7 separate regions of the Homo sapiens genome follow, and all the other regions are linked to region 1. The links are contacts of gene promoters, found by promoter capture Hi-C in human tissues and cell types (Jung and others, 2019). All regions are on one chromosome and are shown on one strand. Each heading gives the region's core, a stretch centred on a gene start or on the middle of the fragment in contact. The rest is flanking DNA. Distances are from core to core; before and after follow the strand shown.

Region 1 (3,521 bases), core at 536-3,035:
ACAATTAGCTGATCTTCAAATAATTTAAAACCACATATACTATGCTTTTACCCATTCTTCCTTTACCTCCATTTAAAATAATGAATTATCTGCTATACTGAGTCAGGGTAAATTACAATGAGTCCCAGGATAAGGTGGTAGGACAGGAAGTGTGTGTTTTTACCCTCTTCCTCTGGAGTGCATAATGCTTTACTATGATACAAAGAGAAGTTTGAAGGAAGTCACGTTGTCAAATATGACAGAAGTAATAACTTGACTGCAATTCCTGAGCCTATCAACCTCACCGTTTGTCCACAAACATAACCAGAATATATTTTATCTTGATTTCCGACTTGAGGGAAAATAAGTTCAGTGATTTAAGATCTGCCAGTTAGCATAAATATTGTGAAAGCAAAAAACTGTGCTAAAATTTTAAGAGAAAAAAAGTTAAGTGTGTTGCGTTTTCAGAAAGATTTAGCTATGGAGTTTTTTTTTTTGTTTTGTTTTGTTTTTTTTTTTTTTGGTTTTGTTTTGTCTTGACCTATGAGTTTGAAGAAGACAAAGTGGCTCTGTAAATAAGTCGACTTCATTTTTAAAGCGTTTGGAAAGGTTAAATGAGGTTGAATCTTGAGAGTCTTTTTGGTGGTTAGGAGAGGGGGAATTTATTAAAGAGAGGAAGACAATGTACCTAATATGTTGTGATGATAATGACAAACTCAAAGATTTAAACTTCATGAGTCATTCTGGTCATTCATATCATCATCAGGAAAACATCTTCATGTGTAGCTTCATAGGTGAGCTCCACAAAACTGTGCATTACCTTGTAGTAGTTTGTGAATAATGTGCTGACCTATGACACATAGCCACGTAAGTGAATAAACACTATTATTATTATTATTTTGTCTTGGTTTTCATTAAACTATCTTAGTAGTTTCAGGAGCTCTGGGTTTCAACACACACTTCTGCCAGCTGACTTTAGTGCGTCCATTAGCATAACAAAGTCAATTAGGCAAACCTGAATTTTCACTTTTATCCCGTTCACAGAACATCAGTGTAAATGGAGACAGGAAGAAGAAATTGGATTGATTCTCCACTTGAGAATTATGTTAACTTGGAAGAAAATGTTAAGTCTACTATGTGAGGGCATCTAGTGAGAGGGAAGGAATCACCTCCCTTCCCCCATTATGTCCCTTTATGCACCTCTGACCCTTGTGCTCTCCTTTTCTTGTTGCTTCTGTGGTCTGGTTGTTAGCTTTCCCGATCCTCCACACATTAGAAACCTAAGCATAATGATTTCTGATCGAAGGCTATGAGATATTTGAAATAAAAAAAGGGGAAATTGTTGAGTCTAGAACCAAACCTTTAAAAATTAAGAACTACCAGTCTGTAATGTGTGCCTTTAGAAAAAAACAAAGTCAAACAGAAATTAGGCAACTAGTTAGAGCCGTGATTGTGCTCTGCCACCCATGAACTCCCGTCTATGACTATTTCCACTCTGGCTTTGTGTTTCAGTAGGTCAGGGACACATATTAAGAGCAACAATTGGAACTGCGTTATCCTTTACCTCCATAAAAATACAGCTTAATAACATGTTAATGACTTAAAATTACCTTGTCTTTCTAGATTGTTTATTGATGTCATTTCAGATCGGTATAAAGGATGTGAAGTGAATAAGAAAATAGGTACGTTTCTTTTTCTTTTTTTCCCCTTTCTACCGACTAGGAAGAGATCCAGTCCAGGTTTTGCCTTTGACTCGGCCTGTGAATTTCGGCTGTGCAATGTGTAGCACGTTTCTTTCTCCCCCCTCCTTTCTCCTTCCCTCTTGCCTCCAGTGACTGTCTCCAGGATTTCTCTCTTCCTATTTCAGGAGGACTCTCACAGGCTCCCACAGCCTGTGTTAAGCTGAGGTTTCCCCTAGATCTCGTATATCCCCAACACATACCTCCACGCACACACATCCCCAAGAACCTCGAGCTCACACCAACAGACACACGCGCGCATACACACTCGCTCTCGCTTGTCCATCTCCCTCCCGGGGGAGCCGGCGCGCGCTCCCACCTTTGCCGCACACTCCGGCGAGCCGAGCCCGCAGCGCTCCAGGATTCTGCGGCTCGGAACTCGGATTGCAGCTCTGAACCCCCATGGTGGTTTTTTAAACACTTCTTTTCCTTCTCTTCCTCGTTTTGATTGCACCGTTTCCATCTGGGGGCTAGAGGAGCAAGGCAGCAGCCTTCCCAGCCAGCCCTTGTTGGCTTGCCATCGTCCATCTGGCTTATAAAAGTTTGCTGAGCGCAGTCCAGAGGGCTGCGCTGCTCGTCCCCTCGGCTGGCAGAAGGGGGTGACGCTGGGCAGCGGCGAGGAGCGCGCCGCTGCCTCTGGCGGGCTTTCGGCTTGAGGGGCAAGGTGAAGAGCGCACCGGCCGTGGGGTTTACCGAGCTGGATTTGTATGTTGCACCATGCCTTCTTGGATCGGGGCTGTGATTCTTCCCCTCTTGGGGCTGCTGCTCTCCCTCCCCGCCGGGGCGGATGTGAAGGCTCGGAGCTGCGGAGAGGTCCGCCAGGCGTACGGTGCCAAGGGATTCAGCCTGGCGGACATCCCCTACCAGGAGATCGCAGGTAAGCGCGGGCGCGCTGCAGGGGCAGGCTGCAGCCCTCGGCTGCCGCACGTCCCACTGGCCGCCCGGCGTCCCCTTCCTTCCCCCTGTTGCTGAGTTGGTGCTCACTTTCTGCCACCGCTATGGGACTCCGCGTCTCCGTGTTGGGCGGCGGATGCTCCTGCGGCTTCTTCGGCGGGGGAAGGTGTGCGTCTCCGCCGCCTCATTGTGTGCACACGCGGGAGCACCCTGGCTCCCGCCTCCCGCTGCTCTCGCGCCCTTCTACCCCTTAGTTGATGGCTCAGGCCCGGCTGGCCAGGGAGCCCGGGTCACTCCGGGGCGGCTGCAAGGCGCAGACGGAGAGCCGAGCCGGGCGCTCACTCCGCGTTCTGGTTCGGGCAAACTTGGAAGAACTGCGACCGCAGTTTGCCCAGCGCCACAGTCTGAGTGGCGCCTTCTCCACTCCCGCCCTTGCGCCGGCAGGGGCGGTGGAGAGACGCGGAGGGCTCCCCCAGCCCCTCTCTCCCCTATCCGTCCTTCGGGCGACAGAGCGCCCGGCGCTCGGGCCGGGGGCGGGCAAGGCTGGGAGGGACCCTCGCCGGGGACCTGGCCTCTGGACGCCGGCGTTTCAAGGCTGGTTTGGGGACTTCACGGGCTGCCTGTTTCAGATGTGGGGCGGGCTTTCCCGTTAGGGTTCCTCAGTGCTTCCCCAGTTGCTGTTGGCCACTCAGGGCCCGGGGACACCCTGCCACCCGGTCTGGAGCCGGCCTCGTCTGCCAGCGAACAGCCAACTTTAGCGGGTGGCTCAGCTGGGGATTCGGGTCCGGGTTCGGGGGCCCCGTGTCCCCCGCATGCCCGGCCACTGGCATTGCTCCACCAAGAGCTTGAGAGCGCCCACCCTTTCTCTCGGCGCCAGTGTGTGTAGCACTTGGTCTCCGACAACTTGCG
Region 2 (3,977 bases), core at 316-2,815, 1.1 Mb before region 1:
AGAAAAAACAAATAGCGATGTCATAGAATTTAAAATGTTATCGTAAAGTGCAGAGTACCATTAAAATAACACACTGTGAGACTTCGAAAAGTCCTCCCTTGAACCTTCATTTTTGAGACAGAGTTTCGCTCTTATAGCCCAGGCTGGAGTGCAGTGGCCCCTTCTCAGCTCATCGCAACCTCTGCCTTCTGGGTTCAAGCGATTCTCCTGTCTCAGCCTCCCGAGTAGCTGGGGTTACAGGGATGCGCCACCACGTCCTGCTAAATTTTTTTGTAGTTTTAGTAGAGACGGGGTTTCTCCATGTTGGTCAGGCTGTTCTCAAACTCCCGACCTCAGGTGATCAACCCGCCTTGGCCACCCAAAGTGCTGGGATTACAGGCGTGAGCCACTGTGCCTGGCCGAACTTTGATTTTTTCATTAGAATTTCTGGAAACATTATTTTATTATATGTTGGCATATTAGTGAAACATATATTTATTAACCTGTTTTCAGATTTAATGGTGACCCTGTATGTTTGTTTCTGTTTATCGATATCTAGCTATAGTTATGTTTACATCTATACCATATTTTGTATCTATACATATATAAAAGCATCTAAATAGGGCTTGACACCTAATTGGAATTCAATAAGTGTTTGCTTCTTTTCTGATTCTAGATTATGTCAAAATTTAGTAGTGCGTTCTAATAAAGTTGAAGAACATTTGAATAGGAGGTTATGATGACATCACTGTGATGCCTACTGCTGTAGTCCAGCTATCTAAGAGCTGAATTGCTTTCAGTTTTATCTGCGGTTCTAAAGTTGGTGGGCGCCCCTTTGGAAACGTTTACTGAACTCTTGGTACAGAGGCCACTAGATGGGGCTTGTGGGCTTAGTACTTTATAGTTTAGAAAAGTCACTTAAAAAAACTCAGACTTCTCTTTAACCTATTCTGTTCTTTATTAACTGTAACACTGTGAGCAATTATAATTAGAAATCTTTTTATATTAGCAAGTGTGAAACCTAACTATTGCCCTTGCAAATATGTGATATTCCTCAAAGAAAAAAAAAACATCTCCCTACAGCCAGGCACATTTATCTCTTTAGAGGCTAAATACAAGACCCCGTTACCAATTTAATAGTAGTTTTCAAACCTGTCTCCTCATATAGAAGAATCTCAGATACAGAATCCTGGAAGCTCTGTTCCTACTTTTTAGGTTTCAGATTCAATGGTGACTCTGTATGTTTGTTTCCATTTATCTATATCTAGCCAGAAACATGCTTTACCATTATCATGAAGTTTGCTCCTTACCCATTGCTAGTGTTTGTTTTCCTCTAAGACAGTGGTTCTCAAATTTTAATGTGCATCAGAATCACCATATATCGTGAAGGACTTTAGAAAATACAAATTACTGTCCACAACCCCAGAATTTCTAATTCAGTAAGTCTAGGATGGAGCCGGTGACTCTGAATTACCAAAAAATGCTCAGATGATGATGGCACTGCTTATCCAGAGACTACACCTTAAGGAGTTCTGTTGTATGCTAAGGCTCTCCCTGGATAAAGTACATACCTTTCATGAGGTAGCCCTTGTGTCTCAAGACAGCTTCCTGTCACACTGCAACATTCATCTCTCCAGGCACTGAGACTGGGACAAGGACGAGAAGTAAGTGGTGGTTTGTGTTTTCTTTGCATTTATGCTCCTAACCACTGGGTACACAGCACACTAAGTTAGATAAGGTTCAACCTCAACAACAGACCAGGGGCACCTGTCTGCATCTTCTAACAACCAATAGCTAATGCTCATTTGAAAAAAAATAAATGAAGGGTTTGACCCAAGGCATCAAAGCTTTGGATTCTGATTTTCCTTTGTCTCAATGGCTTTTAGATTTCTAAGACCTCCCTTTCCGTTTCTCTCCATCTGACCTCCAACCTTCCCCAGATTCCTAATCCCACCATTTTTGAACCTCCCTCCAGAGTGCCTGGAGCTAGGCCCAGTGGTTCCTCACCTCAACGGCCACATCCAAGCACTTCTCAGCCCCTAGTTTACTGATTTCCAGCACACTACCAGGCACCACTTTACCTTTACTGGAGACCTAGGTATACACTGCTTCTTTACATACTGTATCTACAGCTGGATAATTCAATTCTCCATCTATTTATCCCTTCATCAGTCATTAACTACCAATGATATAACAGGCACTGCTTCACCCTGCCACTATGCTATAGTTGTAAACAAGCCAGACATGACCTCCCATCTTTTGCTATTTCCGTCATTGTTTTGACTGATCTATCTTTTTGGATTTTGGATACCCTTATTTCCATCATTGTTTTGATTGATCTGCCTTTTTGGATTTTGGATACCCGTTGTTGTCACCAGCTTGTTGTTTTGCATCTCAGTTAACTTCTTGGCTTACAGACCCCTGGCTTCTGAAAACCACAAGCTTTCTGGCTTTTACACGGCATCTCAACTTGTATCAGAACATGTTGTTTTCTAGCCCCTTAAGCCAGTCTAGCCTCTGGCAACCTGAGCATCTTCCCCTTGTCTGACTTTCATCATATCTGCTGGGCTTCTGCATCTTCACTGTTAATGTAATGACAATGCCTTAAATTATGTGGATTATATTTTCAAAGGTGTGTTAGCGTATCCCATCTCACTTTCCTTATTTCAAATGATTAACCTATCTTGATGGAAAGTTGATCTTTCCAATGATTTCAAATATGTACCTTCATATAATTTTTATATTTTTATAATTATACAAATTACTTACATCTCAACCTTATAAAGCTCTTTTTTGCTCTTTTATATTCTAATAACAGAATAGCCACTAGTATGTTTTTTGTGTTCTTCAGAATAACCTAGATCAGATATGCACAGTCTCTGATTAAAATGATTTCTTGCATCCCAGAAGCTTCTGTATTATGTCAGCAAAATTGTGTTTATTTCACAGGCTCTGTCTGATAAATATTTTTTGTGGTCTTCATGTGACAACACTGAATAACATGCCTAAACTCAGCCTCCTCTTTTAAACATTCCTACCTTGAGAAGACTAGTGACAGAATAGCATCCACAGTACTATTTAGTTTAAATTAATTACAACAAAGCTCAACGAAAATTGGCTTCGATATACCATTATTTTTCTATTTTCTTTCAGTTCAGGCATTATATATAATTAAAGATGCCCCAGTATTCTACTTGCAGAAGTCATTTGCTAATGAAGGGGAAGATTACTGGGAATAGCATAAAAAGTTCAAACCACCAATAAACATTTCTGGAAGCTTGGAGCTGAAAGACTGAAACTATTCTGGCACATGGAAGTTTTACCAAGCTCTTAACCTAATTATATTCCTGATACGAGTTAGGCTCAATTTATTCCGAAGGGATGCCGCAAAGGGAAGCTTATCATGAATACTAAGGGTAATAGAAACAATTGCTTCAGTGAGCCTAGTACTGTCACAGCAGGCGCATCAGAACAGATGGCTCTGCGTTTATTCCAGTCTAGGGATTCAAATTGGCAGTAGTCAAACAAAAATCCTGAAAAGCATGTCAGCAGATGTGGATATGAGTTTTCTTTATTTAAAGAGCCATTCATACCATTCCACTGAAAATGCATATAAAACTGGAGGTATTTGCCACTTTGGTTAATTTGCCTATTAGTGCCTTCAACTTGTGGCCCATCATTTTAATATATATATTTATATATAACATATATACATATATACCAGCAGTATAGTAATTTCTGATATATACTATTAACCTCAAGTTACTATATATATACTATTATTAAATTTTTGTATAGTGTTTGTATATTATATATTTATATGCCAGCTCCTTAAAATGTGTTAATATTATATATCAACAGTTGCTAATTCCTTACATTAATATATGCTATTTTGCATCTTTTGAGTCCAAACTGCTACCAGCATAGGAATTTTAACATTTTCTTTAAAAATAAACTAGTTTAGCCTGGGCACGGTGGCTCACACCTGTAATCCCAGC
Region 3 (3,842 bases), core at 670-3,169, 1.2 Mb after region 1:
TGGAGTTATGGACCATACAAAAGCAAGCAGCAGGTCATAGTTTGTCAACTTCTGGTTTAAAGGGACAAGCTGGCTGGGACAGAGTCCAGCCTTGCTCTCAGGAGAACACAGGTGGGGAAAAGGTGGACAAAAGTCATATTGATAGAGACCTCTCACTACTATTGCTGCTGCTCCTCTCATTTCCTATTTGTAGAACTTGTTTTCCTCTATTTTTCTTTTAAAATCCTTTAAAAAGCATGGTATCTTCCTAGAGCAATGGCTCTGAGTATAAAAAGAGCAAAGAATGGAATTTCTTAAACTTAAGTACTGGCCAGAAGAAATGTCTAAGGCCAACATGGTAGGTGTGGCCTCCCCTTGAGTCTGGGGTTCACACATTCCTTGGGTTGCATAACTCAGGTATCAGTTGATATTGTTCTTCAAACACCTATTTCTGTACAGTCCACCCACTCATCACACCACTGCCTATTAAAAACAATCCTGTTGGGTAGGGTGGGGGACCATGGATGGGGAGATTTTGCCTCCCACCACCATGCCCCATATCTGCTGAGCTCTGTTTCCACTCTTTCCTGGTTGGTTGTATTAGTCCGTTTTCATACTGCTATAAAGAACTGCCCGAGACTGGGTAATTTATAAAGGAAAGTGGTTAATTAACTCACAGTTCAGCATGGCTGGGGAGGCCTCAGGAAAATTACAATCATGGTGGAAGGCGAAGGGGAAGCAAAAGACCTTCTTCACAAGGTGACAGGAAAGAGAAGTGCCAAGCCGTGGGGGAAGAGCCCCTTAAAAAACCATCAGATCTCGTGAGAACTCACTCACTATCACGAGAACAGGATGGGGGAAACCACCACCATGATTGAATTACCTCCACATGGCCTCTCCCCTGACAGGTGGGGATTATGGGGATTACAATTCAAGATGAGATTTGGGTGGGGCCACAAAGCCTAAACATATCAGTGGTCTAACTTTCTTTTTCAATCTTTCCACACTAGGTGATGAATCCAGTGGCTCAGGGAGTGGCAGTGGGTGCATGGATGACGTGTGTCCCACGGAGTTTGAGTTTGTCACCACAGAGGCCCCCGCAGTGGATCCCGACCGGAGAGAGGTGGACTCTTCTGCAGCCCAGCGTGGCCACTCCCTGCTCTCCTGGTCTCTCACCTGCATTGTCCTGGCACTGCAGAGACTGTGCAGATAATCTTGGGTTTTTGGTCAGATGAAACTGCATTTTAGCTATCTGAATGGCCAACTCACTTCTTTTCTTACACTCTTGGACAATGGACCATGCCACAAAAACTTACCGTTTTCTATGAGAAGAGAGCAGTAATGCAATCTGCCTCCCTTTTTGTTTTCCCAAAGAGTACCGGGTGCCAGACTGAACTGCTTCCTCTTTCCTTCAGCTATCTGTGGGGACCTTGTTTATTCTAGAGAGAATTCTTACTCAAATTTTTCGTACCAGGAGATTTTCTTACCTTCATTTGCTTTTATGCTGCAGAAGTAAAGGAATCTCACGTTGTGAGGGTTTTTTTTTTCTCATTTAAAATAAAAAAGGAAGAAAGAAAATAATTTTCCTTGTAAAATCGGGCCAAACCCCAAGACAGCTACATTTTCAACAAAAAAGCAAACAGAGAAAAATAAATGAACTTTAACACTGTAAGTTCAGCATTGACAGCCAACTTCCAGTGTAAGCTTTTTTGTGACAAATCCGGGTTTAAAAATGCTTATGGGGAGAAAGCTTAAAGTTTGTTCTAAATGTAGTGAAAATGCACTGTTGTCTTGGAGGTATCATCTTGCACTCTAACCAAACAACACCAAATTAATCTGGAGGTACTGATACTAAATTTGGAATCCCGTCTTTAATATGAGAACACAAATTACTACAACTCAGTACCTCTGTCTTACTCTGCCCAATTTCAATTTAGTAATGGCACCATTATTCTTAATTCCCTTAATGTCTGTCCGCTGTATCCAATTGGCACAGATTTTCCCCTTCATCTTCAATTACTAGTAGCTACCCCCATCAATTCACCTTCCTCAAGAGTCTCAATTGAAAATAATCTTTGATGATACAATCTCTGCTTTTGCCACAGGTTTGACATTAACTAGACGTTTCTGCCCCTGTGCTCATTACCCTCCCAAAACAATAGTTTTTTTAATGAATTGAAACACAATTAGATCCATTCCTGAGTTTTCATTTTTAACTATTTACTTTGTGTCAGTTGGTTTCTGCATCACAAGGGCATTCTCTTACAAAACAACTCACAACAGAAAAAAAAAGTCAAGACAAAAAATATATATATATAGTATTGACATGGAGATTTCTTTCACTTTTTTAGTCTTAGTATGATCATCTATTTTTATATCTATGTATATATAAATCACAGATTTTAACTTCTTAATTCCAAGCTCAGGGTTGACACACCTTTGTAAGAAAATGTTTTGTCAACCAGCTCTTCTTGTTTTGTGCTGCTCAAAGAAGGGATTCCTCAGTGATCGGTGAGCACCAAGAATCAAGAAAGAGAACTTTTTATGTATCTAACTGTCCATTTATTAAAAATTTGCCAGGGCACACCCTTCTGCATGAGTGTGCTTCAGCCTGGGTGCTCCAGACTACACCAAACTCATGGGATGAGCCATTGGTGTGCAGGGCTTTACCGGTGATGGAAACTGTATGTGTAAAGAATGTTATTCATGAAAAACCATTGCTTTCATGTAAAACACCTTCGGCCTAGGATTCCTGCCTGGCACTTGGATACATTACCTAACTCAATAGGCCAGTTTAGAGCCACAGCCTAACCTGTTCACCAAGTAGGCCAAAGCCAGGCCTTTCGCTCCCCCTGACAGAGAGAAGCAAAATAAACCCAACTGGGGGCTTTATGAATACAGTTGGCTATCCATATGTTTCTTAGTTTTTATGATGCATCTGGAGTAGGGAAAAGTAATGTTTCAAGACACCATAGTAGGCCAGTTACATTTTAATTAACTCATCGACAGTATTGACACGTAAATGGTATTTTTCAATCTGTTCTCATCAAAATTAAAATTAGTTATTGATTTAGTCATCACATTTAAGTAGAACACATGTGGCACAATAGTATTAAGTATATTTGAGCACTTTTGCAAGACAGAAAGTATTTACAAGCATCTATTGCTACTTTATGCCTAATGAAATATAAAATGTAGGATGATGAGAGACTTTGTGGCATTCTTTCATTTAAACCTTTATGAAATTAACCATCTAGTTCATCATTACATACTCCTAGAAAACCATCCATTTCACTGCCCACATTTTGGCTTCCTACCACAAATTCCACATAAGACTTCTCTATGAAGGACCAGTCATTTACATTGCTCATTTCATTCTGTGTTCAGAAGTCAGTATTGTCTTTCTCCAATAATTAAGGTGCAATACAAATTAAATCAACCTTGATTTTCCAGACTATTTGAATAATAACTTGCTTTTATGGCTTTAAACTCCAGGTCTTTCCTTTTTAAAATATTTCTGCATTCTCTTTTATGAACTAGATCAGGATGCCTTGTTTTTCCTGTGCTTTCACCCCCAAAAGGTTTTGTGCATGTGTATGAATACACATAATATTAGTGAATGTGAACCCATGTTCTATACGCACTAAACACACAGTTAATATATAAACGCCTGCTTCATTTGTTTCAACACCTTCATTATCAATATGATTCATATTGATGAGATATAGTGATGCATAATGAGCCAGGCAGAGAGCTGAAATGATATCAGTTAATGATGTCACAGTGTTAGCACCCTGCATGGATGTGGTCAAAATATCATTCAAGTTGTACTTCCTAGTTTTTATCATCATACTACTATGTCA
Region 4 (3,991 bases), core at 109-2,608, 1.1 Mb after region 1:
AGGGATTTAGAGATGAAATTGGTCTGTGCATCAGGGATGGGAAAGGATTCCAGGGTCTTCATCTGCTTTATGAATTAATATCGGTATACATTACCCTCTTAATATAGTGCTGAGCCAGGAAGTCTTGTGAGCCACCTAAGTTAGCTGTGAAATACTCAGGGCGTCCCTTAATTTTTTACTATAAATTTCTTCCACTTCATTTCTAACTTTGAAGTTTTAGGTAAAGATAGTTTCTCAACTCATATTTTGCCCTTTTCCAGATTATGCATTAGATGCAGTCATGGCCATAAATCTCACTAATGGCCAGTGCTGTACGGCATCTTATGGTCAGCATCTGAGTGTGCAGGCTCTCTGTGCTAATCCTGGGATTCCAGTAAGTCATAAAAACAGCGGCTTAAGAAAGTTTGCATTTTTCCCCTCTTGTCAAACTAAGATAAACCCAATTTTAGAAGAGGTACAGTTCCTATCCCTTCCTGGTGAATCCTAAAAGGAAATCAATACATCAATGCATTGTCCTTTAGTTGCACTTTGTACATTTTCCTGAGAACTTATGGCCAAATTAGTAAATGAAATGTGTAAGACATTGGGCAGTTTTGCAATGCACTTCAAGTCATCTGTCTTAATCCCTGCAATAACCCTAAGAGTAGGGCATTCTCTGTCTTGCTAGTCAGGAAACTGAGGTCCATGGAAGCTAAGTATGTTTCCCTGGGATTGCACAACTAAGTAGCAGAGGTAGGATTCAAGTTCGGATCCTCTGACTCCAATTACCATTCCCTTTCCACTGCAACAGGCTGCTCATGTGTAGGGGAGCATGCAATGAAGATAGCCAGTGAAGCTGAGTCCAAATGCATGATGGAGAAGCCTGTGCAACTATTAGGATGGAGAAACTATTAAGATGGTGGGAAAGGAGAATGGGTGTACAGAGAGCAGAGAAGGAGAGAGAAAGGTCATTTTAAAAAAATGAAATGACAACTTTGAGTCAAGCCCCTTATAGAAGAGCTCACCCTCTTTCTGTTTTCTGATGCTCCCCACATTGCCTTTATCAAGATTTGGAAAGATATATTGAAACTTGGAAGGTATAGGGTATCTTCTGTAGTTCCCTCTATATTGTTTTATTACCTAGAAAGAGCCAGAGGGTGAATATGTTAGACTTTGCAACCCAGTGGTCTCTGTCACAGCCATTCAACTCTGACATTTTTATCTTGAACGCAGCCATGGACAATGCATAAACACATGAGCATGGCTGTGCTTCACTAACGTTTATTTACAAAGCAGCAGCCAGCTGGAGACCACTGTTTGCTGGCTCCTGCCTTAAAACAGTGACTTCCAACCTCAGCTGTACATTACAACCACCTGGGGAACAGCAGAAAATACCAGTGCCCCCTGATTCTTCTCTACAATAACCAAATCTTTCTAAAGTAGAGTGCAGGTATCAATATAGATGTTTAAAGCATGCCATGAAATTCTAGTGTAAAAGTAAGATGGAGGACCACTGTCCTAGATTCTGAAACAGTGGCCTTCTCATTATGGTTCCTGGGACAACAGCATCAGCATTCCCTGGCAACTTGTTAGACATCGAGTTCTCAAGCCCCATTCCAGACCTACGGAAACTGAAACTCCAAGTGGGGCCCCAAAATTGTGTTAACAAGCCCTCCAGGTGGTGCCAAAGCACAACCCAGTTTGAGAAGCACAAGTCTGGGACCTAGAAAATAAGGATTCAGCCCCAGAGCCCTTGCTTGAGTGTCTTCCTGAGCACATCAGGCGTAATGTTCTAGAGCCAGCCCTGGACCTTCCATCGGAAATCCAGCTTTAAGCTCTGCCCTTTACTTCCCCTCCCTAAGCCCCAGAGTCTTCATCTATAAAAAGAGTAATATTAATAGTTATACCTAATTTATAGCTAATTGATGGTGATTGGGTGATTAAAGGTATGTGAAGGCAGTCAAACTATTAGACACCATGCAAATGCAACTATTTATTGTGATTGTAACTAACCCTTCAGAGGTAGAAGTACATGCAGTTATTACTCATGGGCTTGGTCCATGACTCTCAGTCCAGGAGTGTGCTGCGGCCCAAAGGGTTACTACTAAGCATAATCTAGAAAGTACTTAAGAGTGAGTTGTCTTATCCTTACCAAAACCATGGTGGTTCTGGCCCTCTGGAGGGCAACAACGCTATAAAGGGAAGAAAACAGGATCAGAAAGAAGTCCCTATGGAGATAAGGTGATAGAGAGGATACTACCATATGAAAGCAGGAAAAAGCCTTTCAAATTAAGGTGGATAGGATATGCTGAATGTCCACAAACCCTTATAGGAAGTAGACAAAGTAAACCATGTATCCTCCTGGGATCTTTTTCCAGGAGTCTCCGAGCCACACTGGGTGGTACACCTTGATATATAATCCTTGCCAAGAAGTAGTATCAGGTACAATCACAAACATATTCAAAAAGGTCCAGAGACCTTTACGAATAACACACATAATTTGTTCCTTAGACAATCTGGGACACTTCAGAGGCAAATTTACAGTCTTTTAGGTTTGACATCTAGTAGGATAAATAGTTGCCATAAAATGTCCCTTAAACACTGTTTTAGAATGAATATACAATCCTGAAAGAATCAGGATCTAACAAACAGTGGGTTGATTCTTGAGTTCTTGTGAGAAGAAAACCAAGACACTTTGCAAGCTATCTGTTGTTTTATATGTGTGTGGATTTGAACTGCATGTTTCTGAAATAATAAAGACCTTTTGGGAATCAACTATCTTATAGAGACTCCAGAGTTATTATCTGAACTTTAGGGAGAACATCCATGCCAAAATCAGCACCATCTGTTAAATTCCCTCATCGTTCTCTTCCTGTCTTACTGAAAGACCCTGCTCTCTTCACTGTTGTTGTGATTTTTTTTTTTTTTTTTCCTTCTTGTTTGGTCATCTGCAGCATAAAGGGTGTAGAGAGGAGAGTCAGAGAGAAGTGTGTCAATCTTTACTTGGACAGAAGCCCAGGAAGTATTAGTTAGACATTTTCTTATGTAGATTGGAGAGTCATTTTTGTGAGTAAAATGCCCTGCAAAGCATTTTGCTGGTAGATGCTCGGAAAATGTTGAGGCAGGTTAAAATGAGCCATGACACACCCGAGCCGCAGGTGTAGCATTTAGAGTCCAGTGAGGGGGGATTACCTCCTGTTCTCCTGCTAGCTTTGCTGAAATTGTTTAATCCCAAAGGATAAATCCAGGCTGCTTTTCTCAGGGCCATATAACTGCCTTAGTACATAGAGCTGTTGAAATATGAACCAAGCAGGGTGTGAACTAGCTCAAAATATGCTGATTTCCAGATGTTCTTTGATTCTGTCAAACACTGATTGCCCCCAAAGACCATCCTGAGTTGTGGCTGCCAGTGATTCCTCATGTTTCTTTCCATGATCAAGGCAATAATTTTAAAGCCCCGTAGTCTTTCTTATGAGCCTGTGTCTGGGTCTTGTCTAGGTCATATTTTACTTCTCAGTATGAAAATGCAGAGTCTCACTGGATTGCGCTGTAAAATATCTGCACGTCGGTAGCGGTTTTTTAATTTGTTGCTCTTCCCAGGATGGAGAACCTTTCTGAATTATGAACGAAGGGTTGGTGCTCAATATAGTGACCTTCCGTGAAAGAGAGGTTGTGGAATATCTGCTTTCTCTGCAACAACAACAACAACAACAAAAGAAAGGAAAAAACAAGGAAAGTAAATGTGAGCATGTTTTAGGGAAAGTAATCAAAATCCAAAATCATTGAATTTATGTTTACAGAAGGAAAAAAAAATCATTTGCGAAGCAGACTTATCACTCACACTATTATTGCATTCCAAAACTTCATTCTCTTAAGAATTAAAAAAATAAATAAATCCAGAGTGTGAATATATTGGGGATCAAAAATGCTAATGCTTCTAGGAGGTTCTTTTGAATTTGTTTTATGATATCTCAGTAAAATAAAGGCTTATAGAAACCCTTCTAACTGGTGG
Region 5 (3,942 bases), core at 708-3,207, 1.1 Mb after region 1:
CATAAAGCACTTGAACCACATCTGACTGTGTCATATAAACTTAGATCTCAAAGACTGCCAGTTATGAAAATACTTTTATTAGTCACTGTTATAAATTGCTTTATGATTTTAGTTAATATCCTTCTATAGTGTAGAACTCATAAGATTATATTGGTTGAATTTGGCCTCAAAGTAAGTACATCTCAGCATTTCTGTCTATAAAAATCAAATGTGCTTACAACCTAAAGGCCTATCCATGAAGTATCAAAATAAAGGGGTAACTAACTGTTACATTTTGTTATAAATTTATTGCCATTTATTAGCAAATAAAACCTTCTCTCTAGTGTAGATATTTGTAGTTGCTGCAACCTTCTACTTTACCTGGCTTATATCTATTCTTTTTTTTTTCCCTTGAGACGGGGCTTCACTCTGCCCCAGGCTGGAGTGCAGTGTCATGATCATGGCTCACTGCAAACTTGACCTGCTGGGCTCAAGTGATCCTCCTACCTTAGCTTACTGAGTAGCTGAGACCACAGGCATACACCACCATGCCCAGCTTTTTATTTTTTTGTAGAGGCGTGGTTTTGCCATGTTGTCCAGGCTGGTCTCGAACTCTTGAGCTCAAGCAATCCACCTGCCTCGACCTCCCAAAGTGCTGGGATTACAGGCATGAGCCAACGTGCTCAGCGGCTTACATCTATTCTCTATTGCAGTTTCAGGAAAAGTTTAAAAATAGTCACCATTTTTCTTTTAAACAACCAATTAGATTCCACCAAATAACTAGTCAGCTGTTTTAAAGAAATGATGGTTTTCATTAGATTATATTGTTTAAATTTTACTTTACAAATTGCATTGTATATCAAGATCTTTCTAACCAGAGGACAAATGGTGAGTATGGGTTTGGTCCCTTTTTTCCCATTTTTGCTGGCTCTAACTTAGTTATTGGAACAATTCAGTCTTTTCTGAATTTTTGTAAAATCTAATTTAAGAACAGGAGTACAGTGTGAGATGAATAAGTTCTAAAGATCTGAGGTACTACATTGTGCCTGCAGCTAACAATAGTGTATTGTTCACTTAAAAAAAAACTGTTAAGAGGGTAGATGTCATGTTAAGTATCCTTACCACAATAAAATAAGAAGTTTTAAAAGAACTGGGTACATTTTGCACTTAGTTAAAATTGCACTGAATTTGAATAATATAATGATATGTATGGCAACTAATTAATTTTTTCCCTCTGAAACAGAGAAGCCGTTTTCCTTCATCCCCGGGAGAAATAAACACACACCCTTAAACAGGGGAAGTAGAGCAAGAAAAATATGTTTCTAAAGACAATGTTTTTGCAGCTTAGCATAAACTAAGTAAAGCATCAACACTTCGAGAATTTTCTCTGGTGTTTAAAATCTGATGGACATGAAAATTGAGATTTGAACCTTTTATAAAGGAACTTTATTGGTAATGTTCAAAATGCTCTAGCTATAAAGGTCTCGAGAGTATAGACAAGTAGCAAACAGAATGAAAATCTTCTACCTTTTGCACCCCTCAAAAATATATTTTATCCATCTTTTTCTGAAAATGATTGGTAATGGTTAAACGTATCATCACAAGTAAAAGCCAAGGACCAGACTCTGTGCCTAAGTATTTAAATCAATAAGCCAATTTTATTCTAAAACATTCTCAGACAGCATGTAGCATTTACTTCCTCAAAGGTGTGGCTTCAGGCTCTGTAAGTGAAAATTGCAGTTTTACTGATTTTTTTATTAAATTCTGATCCCTTCCCAAATGGTAAGAATTAGTGACGTGTAATGCACAGCCAGCCATAAGCCCACTTTGCTCAGCTCCTGAGAACAAGGCACTGTTTGCGCATCAAACGGAGCTATACCGAGGTTATTCCTGAGAGACACGAGTTAGGTCCAAAGCTAATAACAGAGTCTCAGCAGCCATTGGCTCTCCTGAGGCCTTCGTCCTTTGGGGTTCCAATATAGCTCTGAACACTGGAAAGTTGGGGGAGTTATCCTTGGCCAGACTCCAGTCCAACAGTCAAACACGCTCATCTTTAAGAAGGATGCACTGCGAAACTATCCAGATGGGCCTGTCATCCATTACAGCCTATTTAGGCTGTTTATAAACAAGTCTCATATTACCTACTCCTGTTTTAATTTTCCCTGGAAAAGATGTTTCCTGAATATTTATAAGAAGCATGTGTCTGAGAAAAGGAGGATAATTGGAAAAGATTTCTCTTCATTTCTTGAAGTGTTTCAGCAGAAAAATGCTTCCAAGGACGATATCAAAACACTACTCCAATCACCCCACCCCTTTTGCCAAAATGAAAATAACTATAAAGCACTTGGAGAGTTACTTCTTAGTGCCATTTAAATTAGTACCTGTGGTAATAACTTTGGGCCCTGTTGGTAAATGTTCTTATATCAGTTATTCTAAAGCTATTTTTTTAATGTGAACTGGTCGTTATGGGGTTTGTTTTAAAAATAAAACTACCAACCCCAAGCTGAGTAAACTGCTGCTATACCTTATATAAAATAATTGAAAACAAAACTCTCTCTTAAAAAATACACCAGTTCCATCATTTAACATCTTATTATATTTATAAGGAACTTATAAATTCTTTTGTATCTCTAGGGAACATTTCCATTTGCTCCTCTAAAGTTATATACACATAAGAAGCAGTTGAGGTAGTCAGAAGCTTTCAGACATACTACCCTAAAGTGGTTTGTGTTATCCAAGAATGAGTGAATGTATTTTTATAAATTTAGCTGCTCATGGAAAGCCAACTCATCTGAGTCTATCGCAGTCCCTACCGCCAACAGCCATGATTTGTTGAGGATACTAATGTTATCAACTGCAGTAATTCAGTTAACAGAGTCATCCTACCATCACGTTGCTTTCTTGTCACCAACAAACTCCCCTTAGAAGCCCCTCTGTCCTAGCTGACTATTAATGACTTTCAATCAAACAGGCCAGAGATTATTGTTTGTACTCAGGAAGAGACTGGTTATGTTCCTTTATTCTTAAATGTGTACTCTGCAAATTCTCTTACATAATTTGATGTGAAACTATAATTTTTTAAAAGACGGTTCCAATTCACTGGAAATGTCAAGTATAAAAATAAATCAGCACAAAATAGCTCGATTTTTAAGATCTGAGCATCAAAAGGTATTTCAAATTAGCCTCTGTAAAAGGCAATTAGTTGTACAGCTCAGAAAATTAGAGCACAACATGTTCTACAGCTCACAGACGCACTTGGACAGGGAGTGTCAGTTACTTTATTCCAGCTGATTCATTAGAGTAAAAATGGACTGTGCATGGTGTATCTTAGAGGAATATATTTTATAAAAGTAAATTTAAAAAAAAAGCCAGGTTTGGAAATTAACTCAACAAGTTGGTGATGACTTAGAGCCATAAATCTCCAGTAAGTATTCAACACTGTACTGTGGATGTGGATTTCTCAAATATCCTACTGGTCATTCTGAGGGAATTTGGGGTGGGGATGGGTGGAATGCCAACCAACAAAGCTCAACTTTGTGCCTGTTCTGTGCTATTATGTATAGAATAATCTCTTTTTCTTTTTCCTTTAAATTTGTTTTCCTCTTGCTTCCCAGAGGACTGTGTGGCGGACTATGCAGCATAGTGTAAGCATTGGTCTTATTCTTCCTCTCATTCCCATTTGTCTTTGTACAGTCATTCCGGAGAGTCCCTGAGAAATTCCTCCTCCACTATCCCTTTCCAAATTATCTGGAGTGGATTGAATACTGCACATAGCCAACTTGTTTAGTCATTTCCTCTCTGCTTGTGATTTATGGTTAACAACCATTTTCATATTCTTTTCCAATGGCCAAGTTTTCAATCTAATCTTGGTGGAAGACCAGCTCATCGAATGGCTGATTTAAATTCTGTCCCAATGTTCAGACGATGCGTAGTCCGCCTGGAAAACTAGCTCTTCCCTGTTAG
Region 6 (3,533 bases), core at 236-2,735, 1.0 Mb before region 1:
CCCAAATGAATTAAAAACTTATATCCATATAGAAAGCAGTACATGGATCTTTACAGCAGCTTTATTAATAATTGACAAAAGTTGGAAGCAACCAAGTTGCCATTTTGTAAGTGAATGAATTAACTGCGGTATATCTAGACAATGGAATATAATTCAGTACTTGTAAGAAGTAAGCTATCAAGTTATGAGAAGACATGGGGGAATATTAAATGCTCTTACTAAAAGAATGAAGCCAGTCTGGAAAGGCTCAAGACTCTGTAATTCTAACTAAAAATGCTCCTCAGCTTCCAAATGGGATTGCACGCTCATTGTAAATTGTAAATATTGTAGGTTGAAAGTGTATTTTTGACTCAGGATATTTTTAATTTACAGTAGGTTTATCCAGACACAACCCCGTTGTAAGTCACAGAACATAATGAAGGTGTATTGCTCCTGCACCACAGTAAAATCAAGAAATTACAAATCAAACCATTGTAAATTAGGGACTGTCTGTATATAATATTCTGGAAAAGGAAAAATTATGGTGACAGTGAAAAAATTAGTCGTTGCTAAGGGTTAGGAGGTGAAGGGGGTGAATAGATAGAGGACAAATAATTTTTAAGGTGGTGAAGCTATTCTGTATGAAGCTACAGTGGTTGATACTTGTTATTATACATTTGTCAAAACTCAGAGAACGTACAATACCAAGAGCAAACCCTAATGTCAATTGATACTTTGGATGATAATGATGTGTCAATGTTGGTTCATTTATTAAAACAAATATACCACTCTCGCAGGGGAAACTGATAAATGGGGAAGGTGTGCGAGTGGGGTTGGGAGTATATAGGAACTCTGTACTTTCCATTCAATTTTGTTGTGAACATATAACTGCTCTAAAAGTTTATTAATTAATATATACATATGGAGCTCATTTTTCAAGGAAATTATCCAACATTTTATGGACTAGGTTTAGTAAGTAAAAATAAATGCGTGATAACAATGATCATTCCTTTTTTCACATTTCTTTCTTCTAAATTGTCTTAAAATTATAAAAAGCAATATGAGTTTATTTTTAATTCTAAATGTGGAGAAAAAAAGTATTGTTTAGTTGAAGCATTTGGTAATTATGAAATTAGATGTCTATTGGAGAGAACAGTGTTTATTAATTTTAGCTGACAAGGGAATAATTTAAAAAGCTTTCATTTTAGATTAATTTTATGTCTATGCCCACGTATGGGATTGCAGATTACTGAAATGTAGAACATACTTTACAGCAAATAAGTTTAATACCATTATGTTTGCATGACAAATACACATATTTTTCATTATTACTTTTTTTAAAATTTGAAATAATTTGAAAAAAATTTACTGAGAATTTATTAAAAACATATTGCTGCCAGGCGCTGTGGCTCATGCCTATAATTCCAGCACTTTGGGAGGTCAAGGCGGGCGGATCACAAGGTCAGGAGTTTGAGACCAGCCTGGCCAACATAGTGAAATCCCATCTCTACTAAAAATACAAAAATTAGCTGGGTGTGTTGGCGAGTGCCTGTAATCCCAGCTACTCAGGAGGCTGAAGCAGGAGAATTGCTTAAACCAGGATGCTGGAGGTTGCAGTGAGCCGAGATGGCGCCACTGCACTCCAGCCTGGGCGACAGAGCGAGACTCTGTCTCAAAAAAAAATAATAAAAAATATATTGCATATTATGCTCAGGTAGAAATTTCAAGAATATTATTAATTCAATTTCTGCCTACAAAATTTTACATTGAAATAAAATATTTTCTTTTTCCAATAAAAAAAGCAGAGTTTACTGGTTCATAACTCAAAATGGAATCAAATAGCATACATATTTGCATTTATATTATGAAACAATACAAATTCTGAACTCCATATCTCCAGTACTGTGAAAGAGTAACAGTATTCACTTTATTTTGTGTATGTAACTAACAGGAAAGGAGAATTCCCAGAGAGTTTCCTATATTGGATAATAGATGAGAGAATCCTATATTGGATAATGGACAAGAGAGAATTATTTAACTCCAGATTTGATTAAAATGATAAAACTACCTCTTAAGAATGATTATAGTTCAACTCTGAAATGTAAACTTAAACCATTTTCCTATCATTGTAAACAAATTAATCCGACAGTTATATTCACTCCTACTGGTGTGCTAAGGAATTGTTGACACTCTTTGGGCAGGATCTAAGTGGCTACACCCATTCGGCTCTGCCCCAGAAGTCCTGCATCCTTTCTGATACTTCCTTAATTAAATTACATGTACACTACATTCTCTTTCAAGAGGCTTTTATTGGCCAAGAAGATTAACCACTCCATTCTTTGTTCCCATTATACTCCATACAGCTTTTTGTTGCACAGGTAATTACGTACTGCTATATTTTTACTTATTTATTTCTTCTTATCCAACTATATACATTTTAAGGGGAAGAGAAATAATATTCTTTTTGAATCTGCAGTGTTTAGTACCATGGTGAACTCAGTGCCTGGCCAATAGCAGAAACTCAACAGTAACTTAATACATCTTTGTTATACGAATGAAAGGAAAGAAGGGAGGAAGAATAATGGAAATTATCATAGTTTATGGAGTCCATTTAAGTACTATTACTTCTTTATGGCAATTTACTCTCATAACAACCTTATGAAGTACAGATTATTATCCTCATTTTACAACTAAAACAAAACACAAGGTGATGATCAGAGAGTTTAAGCACCTTGCCTGAATTCACACAGTTCATCCTGTGTGCTTGGGATGCAAATAGTGAGTACCTCCGACTCCAGAGCAACACTCAGGACATGACAATGTTCAGAAGGTGTGTGATGCATGCCATAGGCTCTCCCTCATAAAAACACACTTGATCCTAATACCGTCACTGTGGACTAGATATTAGGATCCATTATTTGCAGATGAGAAAGAAAACAGTTAAAACAAGTCTCCTGTCTGAGCAATTTTGAAAGGTGCTAGGCTACAGAGATGCCATGATTATAAGTTCAAGGTTCATTCACTGCCACAAACCTGTCTTATAATACTTTTGCATATTTCCTCACTGAAAAATAGTATCCTCATTCAGAAATTACATAATGGCCATAGCTAGGTAAGTGTGTTCTGTGAATTTGGAAATCAGTTTCAGTTTGCTGCAGCCTGCAGGTATTCTCAAATGCATCAGAGAGTAGACTAGGAAAAATAAAACTGAAATGTAAAAGGAATGAGCAGGGGGTGTATATTAGGCTCTTTCTGACCTAGTATTAGCCTCCCCATCAGATTTCACTTCCAATGGTCTTTCTCCAACAACATGGTCTTTCAGGCCTTTCCTTGTAATCTAAGGTAGAGTGAGAAGGAAAGTGATTTTAGGGTCATGATTGAATGGCTAACAGCACAAATTCAAAGACTTCTTTTATCAGGAAAAAATAAGGTTATTTTATGGTAATTATCATTGGAAATTCTAAACCTTAAATCAGAGAAGCATTAGCAGTCAAAGATCTCTGCTGTAGATTTGTGGAGTTTGTATTACATTACAGATATTTTAGAAAGGCATA
Region 7 (3,606 bases), core at 1,014-3,513, 1.1 Mb before region 1:
AACAAAAGTGAAAAAAATTATATTGAAGTATAAATTATATATATTAATCTTAATTGCTCAACATATATTTACAAATACATTTTTTGTGCATATTTGTATTTTGTACCTATATATAAAACAAAAATTATCTTTTGTACAAATATTTGTAAGATCTGGCACATTTTTAGCACCCCAGAAAAATCTTTTTCGGGCTCTCAATGCTGAGAAAAAGAAGGCAGTCTCACCTGTTACCATATATTAATATTGCCTACCTTGGTCTTCATATAAATGGAAGAATACAGTATTTATGTTTTCTTTTTCTGGCTTATTTCACTTAAACTTACATTTGTGAAATCTATTTGTTATGTACCAGTGATTCATTCCTTTTCATTTTGTGTAGCACCCTGTTTAATTATGGAGCTTTTCAATCCATTTTATGCTGATGGACATTCAGGTGTTTCTGTTGAAACTGTTTGTCATAAGTTATCTATGTGTTTAAATTTAGAAGATAATGATAATTATTTTTCCAAAATGGTTGTATCAACTTAATAACTCATTTAAATATGTGAGGATCTCCTAAAAATCTAAAAAAGATGGACCCCCAATTTCAAAGAATAAATAAAAAGGTAAAGCACTTAAACAGGCAGTATATGCACATTTGTAAAAATAAAAGATTGAGTTAAATTTTGAAAAATATAAGAATCTCATTTGAGCTACATGTATGAAAATATTTATTTTAATTATATGACACATAGATTTTGGATATGATGAGTGCTGAACTGAGGGTTTTCACTTGATAAGCCTTAAAAATTGAACTTTTCACTCACGAAACATGCTTAAGACAATTTTATATATGAATTGAATCATAAAAATTGTCTTAGAGTTCAATAAAATGTTTAAAGTACCTTATAGGCTGAGGAAAACAATGGAAGAGTTAACAAGGATACAAAGCGTAAAAGAGAAGAATAAGAGTTCACATAAAATCGAATGAAAAGGTACCATCTTCTGCAACTCTTTAGGTAATTGTTCATGTGTGCTAATTTTCATGAGTTGTAGCACATTGTTTTTGGCCAAGGCTTCCATTCGCTCTATGGATACGCCAAAAATTTCCTATTTCAGATCTTCTAGTCTCCAACTCTGAAGATAAAAATCATTAAAACCTCTGACTCTGATATTGAATGCCTGCATAAAAATTTCCTTCCATCACCTTGCAACAGATGACTTGCTCATACACCTTTCTGACTCACCATCACGGGTTCTCTCCTTCCTTTGAGACTACAGTAATTCTTTTTGTATTTCATGTTATGTGCAAACTTTACTTTCAAAGGGGTTTTTACCTATATTAATGTATTTACATCATTCACTTAATATATTTTCCTATCTGTAAAATTGGTTTAGATATCTTGGATTAGGATAGAACACAATTTTTCTCACTTTTATAAGTTTTTTTTAGTTGGGCCGTTTTTCAGTTGGTGACAGTGTCAGAAATGAATTAAAATTAAGTGAAGAATAGGTAAACAGAAGGATGCCCTTATGACTTACCAACTTTGCTTAGTTTTTTCAAGTTCAACAAGACCCTTCTCTCCCTTCAAGGAAGATGATTCCTAGGCATGTTTGTTATTTTTATCAAAACAGCTGAGTTTTTTTTTTCATTCAAATTGGCAGTATACCTGGTAAATACAAATTATTTCTGAGCTCATGTATATTTTTAGGACAGTTTCTTGTGATATGCCTAGGTTATAATATTAAGGAACATCGACTTTTCTCAGTGTTGGGGCACTTGAAAGAGTTCTTAATAACCCTGCAGACTTACTTCCAGAATAATGTAAGGCCACTTTTTAAAAAACTGTGCATATTACTCTGAGAAATTAATATGCACTTCCTTGAGTTTCTTTAGTCTTAGACTTGATAGTTGTAATTGTCAATAATTGAAGACAGAATATTCTAGAAAATATTATTTTTTGCCTTTCTCTGAAATATTTGTTGCTCTGTATGGATTATTTTATAGATTAAAAAACAGAAAATATATTTCAGGTCCTACAGTGTACCCCATATATGTGAGCATTAAAGCTTAGAGATAAAGGCACTGTACAGAATAAAATGTAACACATTGACCAAATGGTTTAATCAACTTCATTGCTCAAGCTCTACCTCATTACTAGAAATGCTGCTCTAAACCATTTTCTCTTTTCAGAAAAACCCAGTATCACCAGAGACTCACCACAAAATGCCTGAGCAGATTTGTTCTCTAAATTGCCTAAATCCATCCAATACTAATTTGTCCAAATTGCTCTTTTTCTCCATAAGAAAGTTTCACCCTCTTAACCTATTATATAATCTTCCCTCCAATTTCAAAGTAAGAGAGAAGTCTCCTTTTTCCAGAGCTAATTCCTGCATCTGACCTGTGTATTCCAACCCAGCCACTTTGTTCCATTAGTCATCCTTTCCTTTGTCATAGCTGTTACCTCTTATGCTCTGTTGCCTTGTTCTTTACATATTTTCTTGAAATTCCTTCATTCTAAAACTCCACATCAACAATAATTATACATAGCAGTAAAGAATATTATAATTTATTATGTCAACTGCGTGATGGGTAATAAAAGGGTACTTATGAAAAATATCCTTAGAGGACTTATGATTTTCTAGATACCTCTTGTTTTCACATGTATCGACAGTAATTTAATTCTGAAAACCATACTTCAAGTAATGCATTATTATCTTTCCCATTAGACATTATTAAAATTAATGCCCTGCGAAATCATTAGGCTCATTCCCATATAGAAAGGAGCCTGCAGGGCTGGGATTTTACCCTAGGCCTTTGAGCTCCAGTGTCTTATCATGTCAGCCCTTCCATGCAATGAAGAACTTAGAATATTCTACAATCACTGTCTTTGCTTTGTCACCACATAAACTGTAAATCACCACAAAATAATTTTAATTTCTAGCATTCAACTAAAATTTGTTTCCTCACATGTGATCAGAGACTCTCATGTTGACTATTCGCAATCCTATTCTAGACAAATTTCCTGTGGTAGTAAATACTCAACTAAATCTATATGTAGAAACATATTTCTACTTTGGATCTCCTCTTGAACTTTTTTCTCTCATCCTACTCTGTTTCTATTGTCCTTTAATAGCATCATACTTGTCAGTATCACCAGGCCACTTCTAGACCTGCCAAGATTACCTGTTCAACATTAATTATCAATAGTGTAATAGCCATCGTATGTAAATTACTCCTAATGTACATCTCTACTATGAAATATAAAAAATTCTTCCTTAGTTCATCTTTTCCACATGGTTTCTCAAACAGACCCTCATAATCACAGCTCTCAAATGTTTATCTTGCTGCCTTGCTGTTTTCTTGTAGCGCCTTCTATGTATGTATCAATATGTTGGTTTTTTTTTTTTTTTTTTTTTTTGAGACAGGGTCTTAGTGTGTCACCCAGGCTGGAGTGCAGTGGCACAATCTCGGCTCACTGCAGTCTTGAACTCCTGGGCTCAGGCAAACTTCCCATCTCAGCCTCCTAAGTAGCTGGGACTACAGGCACTCACCACCACACCCAGTTCCTTTTTATTTTTTTTGTGCAGATGGGGTTTTGCCATGTTGCCCAGGCTGGTCTGAAA

Evidence for each region. Contacts are between HindIII fragments. The study calls those that stand out against the background at their distance.
Region 2: a fragment that was not itself captured here is called in contact with the fragment with the promoter of GPC6 in region 1 in 1 of the 25 tissues and cell types used here (dorsolateral prefrontal cortex).
Region 3: a fragment that was not itself captured here is called in contact with the fragment with the promoter of GPC6 in region 1 in 1 of the 25 tissues and cell types used here (dorsolateral prefrontal cortex).
Region 4: a contact is called between a fragment that was not itself captured here and the fragment with the promoter of GPC6 in region 1, in 1 of the 25 tissues and cell types used here (lymphoblastoid cells).
Region 5: a contact is called between a fragment that was not itself captured here and the fragment with the promoter of GPC6 in region 1, in 1 of the 25 tissues and cell types used here (dorsolateral prefrontal cortex).
Region 6: a fragment that was not itself captured here is called in contact with the fragment with the promoter of GPC6 in region 1 in 1 of the 25 tissues and cell types used here (mesenchymal stem cells).
Region 7: a contact is called between a fragment that was not itself captured here and the fragment with the promoter of GPC6 in region 1, in 1 of the 25 tissues and cell types used here (dorsolateral prefrontal cortex).

Annotation. Positions count from the first base shown.
Region 1 is chr13:93,225,022-93,228,542 of GRCh38, forward strand. It overlaps GPC6 (glypican 6), which reads left to right and starts at 1,786. Exons shown (of 9, transcript NM_005708.5): 1 at 1,786-2,595. The coding sequence starts at 2,436. RefSeq lists an enhancer at 2,379-3,221 and a silencer at 3,275-3,521. The HindIII fragment of the contact is 15,285 bases long and covers 1-3,521 here.
Region 2 is chr13:92,174,753-92,178,729 of GRCh38, forward strand. The region is part of intron 7 of GPC5 (glypican 5); the gene reads left to right. Among named protein-coding and RNA genes, the nearest start is that of GPC5-AS2, 180 kb to the right of the region's middle. The HindIII fragment of the contact is 3,014 bases long and covers 59-3,072 here.
Region 3 is chr13:94,402,026-94,405,867 of GRCh38, forward strand. It overlaps GPC6 (glypican 6), which reads left to right. Exons shown (of 9, transcript NM_005708.5): 9 at 990-3,842. The coding sequence ends at 1,192. Among named protein-coding and RNA genes, the nearest start is that of DCT, 76 kb to the right of the region's middle. The HindIII fragment of the contact is 3,353 bases long and covers 244-3,596 here.
Region 4 is chr13:94,333,009-94,336,999 of GRCh38, forward strand. All of the region lies in intron 6 of GPC6 (glypican 6), which reads left to right. Among named protein-coding and RNA genes, the nearest start is that of DCT, 140 kb to the right of the region's middle. The HindIII fragment of the contact is 7,041 bases long and covers 1-3,991 here.
Region 5 is chr13:94,306,945-94,310,886 of GRCh38, forward strand. All of the region lies in intron 6 of GPC6 (glypican 6), which reads left to right. Among named protein-coding and RNA genes, the nearest start is that of GPC6-AS1, 120 kb to the left of the region's middle. The HindIII fragment of the contact is 6,244 bases long and covers 1-3,942 here.
Region 6 is chr13:92,191,522-92,195,054 of GRCh38, forward strand. All of the region lies in intron 7 of GPC5 (glypican 5), which reads left to right. Among named protein-coding and RNA genes, the nearest start is that of GPC5-AS2, 160 kb to the right of the region's middle. The HindIII fragment of the contact is 3,219 bases long and covers 1-3,095 here.
Region 7 is chr13:92,105,684-92,109,289 of GRCh38, forward strand. The region is part of intron 6 of GPC5 (glypican 5); the gene reads left to right. Among named protein-coding and RNA genes, the nearest start is that of GPC5-AS2, 240 kb to the right of the region's middle. The HindIII fragment of the contact is 5,351 bases long and covers 1-3,606 here.